Linked DNA regions of Homo sapiens: region 1 is linked to region 2. The links are contacts of gene promoters, found by promoter capture Hi-C in human tissues and cell types (Jung and others, 2019). All regions are on one chromosome and are shown on one strand. Each heading gives the region's core, a stretch centred on a gene start or on the middle of the fragment in contact. The rest is flanking DNA. Distances are from core to core; before and after follow the strand shown.

What was found. Contacts are between HindIII fragments. The study calls those that stand out against the background at their distance.
Region 1: a contact is called between a fragment that was not itself captured here and the fragment with the promoter of TNFRSF1B in region 2, in 1 of the 25 tissues and cell types used here (liver).

The regions. Positions count from the first base shown.
Region 1 is chr1:12,380,933-12,383,721 of GRCh38, forward strand. VPS13D (vacuolar protein sorting 13 homolog D) reads left to right here. Exons shown (of 70, transcript NM_015378.4): 58 at 2,044-2,223. Among named protein-coding and RNA genes, the nearest start is that of SNORA59A, 120 kb to the right of the region's middle. The HindIII fragment of the contact is 4,520 bases long and covers 1-2,789 here.
Region 2 is chr1:12,165,609-12,168,308 of GRCh38, forward strand. It overlaps TNFRSF1B (TNF receptor superfamily member 1B), which reads left to right and starts at 1,383. Exons shown (of 10, transcript NM_001066.3): 1 at 1,383-1,561. The coding sequence starts at 1,484. It overlaps MIR7846 (microRNA 7846), which reads left to right and starts at 1,335; the gene lies at 1,335-1,430. RefSeq lists silencers at 1,219-1,528, 1,539-1,768 and an enhancer at 1,809-2,450. The HindIII fragment of the contact is 11,494 bases long and covers 1-2,700 here.

The sequences.
Region 1 (2,789 bases), core at 42-2,541, 220 kb after region 2:
AAAGAGGGCTTGTTATAATTGGTGGGTTTCATGTCTGACCCTGACTTCACTTCTAGTTTGTTTCTAAAGCCCATGTAATTCCAATGCTCTTGGAGCATTTTCTTCCTTAAAATCTTTTTTTGGTGTTTGTTGTTTTGTGAATCTATTTCATCATTTCCCTGCTTGTTAGTGACAGTATAATAACAGTATTCAGCAGAGCAGAATGTGTTTTGGTTAGGGAAGTAAGCTTGTTTCAATCTTATTATGCTGAATAAAGTCATTGAAGACATTAAAACATTTTCTGACACTGCTCTTATTAGGTTGTATATGCTCTTTCTTTCTAAACTTATAATAGCTATAAAAAGCTTTCTTTGTGTTGAAACCTGTACTATAAACCCTGCTCAAAGTTTGCTTTTCATGAGTCAATATTTAAAAGTTAACAAAGGGGATTTAGACACTCTTTGCCATTGTCTTCTCTAGCCTTGTGTTTGCTTTCCCACAGCCATAATCCTGTAGACTCGATTTACTTGGGGCATGTAGCAAGGTGTTTTCCTCCAAAGGCCTTGTTAAAGCAAACTAAATATGGCCTGAGAAGGACTCCGTACTTCTATAATTGAATCCCTGTGGACCAACTGTAACCTAGAGTAATCGGCAGGCAAGATTGAAATCCTTACTTAGGAGTATGTGCCTGTAACAATAGCTGAGACTTGGCCAGTCACAGCAGCCATACTTCCACCACTCACAGATGGCTGAGTGTTCAGACTGTGTTCAAATAAGGCAGACGCCAACCTGTAACCAATCCAGCTGTTTACTTCCAACTTCTGTACATCACTTCCCTTTCTTTGTCTATAAATTTGTTCTGACCACGAGGCATCCCTGGAGTCTCTCTGAATCTGCTGTGATTCTGGAGGCTGCCTGATTTGTGAATTGTTCATTGCTCAATTAAACCCCTTTAAATTTAATTCGGCTGAAGTCAGTCAGTCTGTCTTTTTTTCTTTTTCTTTCTTTTCTTTTCTTTCTTTCTTTCTTTCTTTCTTTCTTTCTTTCTTTCTTTCTTTCTTTCTTTCTTTCTCTCTCTCTCTCTCCTTCCTTCCTTTCTTCCTTCCTTCCTTCCTTTCTTTCTCTTTCTTTCTTTCTTTCTTCCCTTTCTTCTCTCTCTTTCTTTCTTTTTCTTTCTTTCTTTTTCCTTTTCCTCTTTTCTTTTCTTTTGACAAAGTGTCGCTCTTGTTGCCCGGGCTGGAGTACAATAGCACAATCTCAGTTCACTGCAACCTCCGCCTCCCGGGCTCAAGCGATTCTCCTGCCTCAGCCTCCTGAGTAGCTGGGATTACAGTTGCCTGCAACCATGCCTGGCTAATTTTTGTATTTTTAGTAGAGATAGGGTTTCACCATGTTGACCAGGCTGGTCTCAAACTCCTGACCTCAGATGATTCGCCCGCCTTGGCCTCCCGAAGTGCTGGGATTACAGGCTGAGCCACCTCGCCTGGCTTGAAGTTTTTCTTTTAACAGCCTGAATAACTGGGTATCAGGTGACATTCTCAACTCTGTATTCCATTCTAGAAGAAACACCATCTTTTGAGTATTTGGATTGGTTGTCCAGCCATAGGCCTGTTTGGGGAGGTTTTCAACTCAAGAATTTTCCTCTTACTGGAAAGCTGAATGATTATAATAATTATTTTCTATTTTCAGAATATTTCAGATTTTTAAGCAAACCCTAGTAAGAATACTCAAAGAAACAGCTAGTTTTGGCTACTTTTTTAGAAGTTTATTTTAATGACAAGAAGTTAGTACTAGTAAAAGGCAGAATTAAACTGATCTATGCATGAAATTATCTCTTATTCATAATTACCAAAATTTATGAGCATAACTTTTCATCTTACTGAAGTAATTCTCCTGTTTTTCATCATCTGCAAAGCTGAACAAATAGTAAAGGCTTTGTTGCACATTGATCATGACCCTCCAGAGGAGAATGTAAATTTAGGAACTTGTTTGAAATGATGTGTTAACTTGTCAAAGTCAGTGCCTCTGTCTTTTCTCACATGTCTCTACTCCAATGTCTTTTAGGCCAAAGGAGGACTTTCTGGTTTGTTTGATGGAGCTGAAGTTGTTCTTGGTCCTGACACTTCCATGGAGCTTTTGGGGCCAGTTCCACCTGAACAACAATTTATTAATCAAAAAATGAGACCTGGTTCTGGAATGTTATCCATCAGAGTCATCCCAGATGGACCAACTAGAGCACTCCAGGTGATAATTTGTCATAAGAGCTGATGTGAAACTCTGTACTTCCTCCACCCCCAATGATTACTCATTTAACAAATACTTATTGAACATGTTTATGCCAGATATGAAGATATGGTATCTTCATCTGTAAAATGGGGATAGGATCTACCTCACAAAGTTGTTACAAGAACTAAAGTACAACAAAAAGATAAGCGTAAAGTATAAACAAAGTATCAATGAAATATGTGGTAACCTAAAAAAGTATAAGATTTAAACAAGATAATGTTAACAGTGCATATTAATAGTGTTGTTAATTATTATTAATAACATAATATCTTAATAACATTAACAACAAGAAGATATGAGATCCTTAATCAGATAATTAAAATATTGTGTTAATGAGAGTAGGAGTGGAGGGTGTATGGAAAGGATTTGTATTCCCAGATTTAGAGGGTGGGGAGCTTCCTAAGAGAAGTAGTACTTAAACTGAGACCTAGAGTTTAACTGAAAGGAATTAGCCAAATAGAAAGGTACAGGTGGAGGGGCTGTGCCCTCAGTAATAAGCATGTTCATCAACAGGTATTTACTGA
Region 2 (2,700 bases), core at 133-2,632:
TTCTCACTCAGCACTCAGCACCTAGAAGCACCATCCTTGCAGGCTCCACTGTGGGGCTGGTGGCCGGGAGCAAGGGTCTCTGTACCTCTTCAGGCAGCCTGCAGTGAGGAAACAGGGAACAGAATAGCCTCCTGCCACCCAGCCCACCCCAACCCTTAGAAATGCCCTATGTGCTGGGGGCTAGGACCCCCGTAATCCAGGGCTGGAGGAATGTGCTCTGGCCCCGCAGGGCTGGCCCTGTATTAGGGCTGGCACTCAAAGTGGGGATGGGGGGACAGATTGCAGCTGGAATGGGTGCTCGGTCATGATGTAAATCCTGGGGAAGCCAGCTCTCCTGGGCCTGGTCTCAGCAGCCCCTCAGGGCCCTGCAGCTTCCCTGGTGACATTCTCTCCCAGCCTCTGTTCATCTGCCCCCTGCCTGGGCAGGAGACTTGAGCAGGGAAGTGCAGAGTCTTCTCCCTGTGAGAAGGCTGGATGCGTGTTTAAGGATAAATGAACACGCGAAGAGTAGTAACAACAGCCAAGATTTATAAATGCCTATTGTTATATATGTAGATACTTACTTAAGTATATATAAAGTACAGACTGCATTATGTATATTACATATCTTTAAATTTTTAGAATAGTCCTATGAGGTCAGTTCAGAGATCCAGACCCAGGTGGTCTGGCTCTAGAGTCTAAACAGGCCGAGTGCAGTGGCTCACACCTATAATCCCAGCACCTTGGGAGGCCAGAGGCGGGAAGATCACTTGAGGGTGGGAAGAACACGTGAGCTCAGGAGTTCGAGACCAGCCTGGACAACATGGCGAAACCCCATCTCTATAAAGAAATCAGCCTAGCATGGTGGCCCGAGCCTGTAGTCCCAGCTACTCGGGAGGCTGAGGTGGGAGGATCGCTTGAGCGCAGGAGTTGGAGGCTGCAGTGAGCTATGGGTGAAAGAGTGAGACCTTGTCTCAAAAAAAATTAAAAAATAAGAATTAAATATATTTAAAATAGAGTCTAAATAAGTGAATGATCTAGAATTCTCTTGGTTCCCCTAAAGCAGCTGTCAGCTTTGGGGGATGTTTTTCCAAATTAGTGCCTCACCCTCACGGGACAGGGAAGCCTGTGGGAGCTGGGAGGGCAGGTGGAGGCCGGGCAGGTGGAGGCCGGGCAGGTGGAGATGGTGATTCGAAGAGGAGGGGACGATAGGAGGAGGTTGAGGGGTCACCCGAGTGCTGGGAGTGACGCTGGAGGTATCGGCCCAGCGATGCTGGAGTGGTCGGGTCGGAGGCCCAGCAGCGTCTGGGGAGGGGCGTGGGGGAGGCGTGTCCAAGGCCGGCTGGCCCCGCCCCGCCCCGCCGCCTGGCCTCTGGCCCGCTGGGGCGCGGGCTTTCGCTTTCAGTCGAGGGCTAGCGAGCGCAGCGGAGCCTGGAGAGAAGGCGCTGGGCTGCGAGGGCGCGAGGGCGCGAGGGCAGGGGGCAACCGGACCCCGCCCGCACCCATGGCGCCCGTCGCCGTCTGGGCCGCGCTGGCCGTCGGACTGGAGCTCTGGGCTGCGGCGCACGCCTTGCCCGCCCAGGTGGGTGACTCGCGCGGCCCACGGGGGACAGCCGCCCCGCATGTCCACCCGGCTGGTGCGCAGCCTTCGGGTGCCCGGGCCGCGCTCTCCCGGGGCGCTGTCACGGGCTGGGAGGCTGGGAGTCCCAGTCGCCGCCCCCCATCCGCATCAGACACGCGCGCCTCTGGGGACCCGCTGGGGACTCCGGGCCCGGCACACGTGCGCTCGGGGCACAACTCTGGCCCCCGAAGCCCCTCTTACCCGCGTCGTGACAGGGGCGCACCCTGGTTCCTCCGCGAGCGCAGGCCGGGGCATTTGGGGCTGAGCAGCGGGTCCTGGGCAGACCCCCGCTAGACCCGGGACCCCTCTTCCCTCACCCCGGCGACTGCCGCGACAGCCCTTCCCTCCCACGCGGTGGAGAAGGGGCTGTGCCGGGGCGCTGCCCCACTGCCCACGCCGGGCACCCTCTTCAAAAGACTTCCTTTTCCTCTGGGCGACGGTTTTCCGATTTCTTAGAAATACCAGGGTCCTGTGTCTGAAGAGCAGGACCAGGTGTGTGTCAGGTCCACTGAGGGCACAGCTGGAGGGCGAGCTGCCTGTCTGCTTCCTCCGATGCGTCCGGGGGCTACTGCAGAGTCTGTTTTCTGCGGCCTCTGGGGACAGGGCAAGCGAGGGAGGTCTGGGCTGGTAATCGAGCAAGGCAAATGAAGTCTCCGGGGGCCGCAGGAAAATGGAGACAGCAGAAACCCTAGGGCTCCTATTCAATATGAACGTCACTCCCACAGTAGCAACGGGCGTACAAGGGACTGTGCACCCTTTGCCTGTTTTTGACTGTCTCCTGGTCTGGTAACATAGGATAACCCCATTTTTGTTTTACTGTCTCCATGGTTTGGTAAGATAAGATAAACCATTTTTTAGAGAAGGAAAACTGAGGCTCAGAGAACTTGTATTTCATGGAAGGGTCTGGGGGGAACTCTTCCTCCAAAGGGGGCCTCTCCTGCCTTCGGCCCCTGTGCCCTGAGGCTGCGGGGAAGGTGGGCGTTCATCCTTCCTCAGAGCCGCCCCTGATGGACACATGGCCCATCTGCCCCCATCTGACATCTTGACCGAGGAGGAAGGTGGGAGGTGGCACTGGCTTCTGTGGTGACATAAGGTGACTT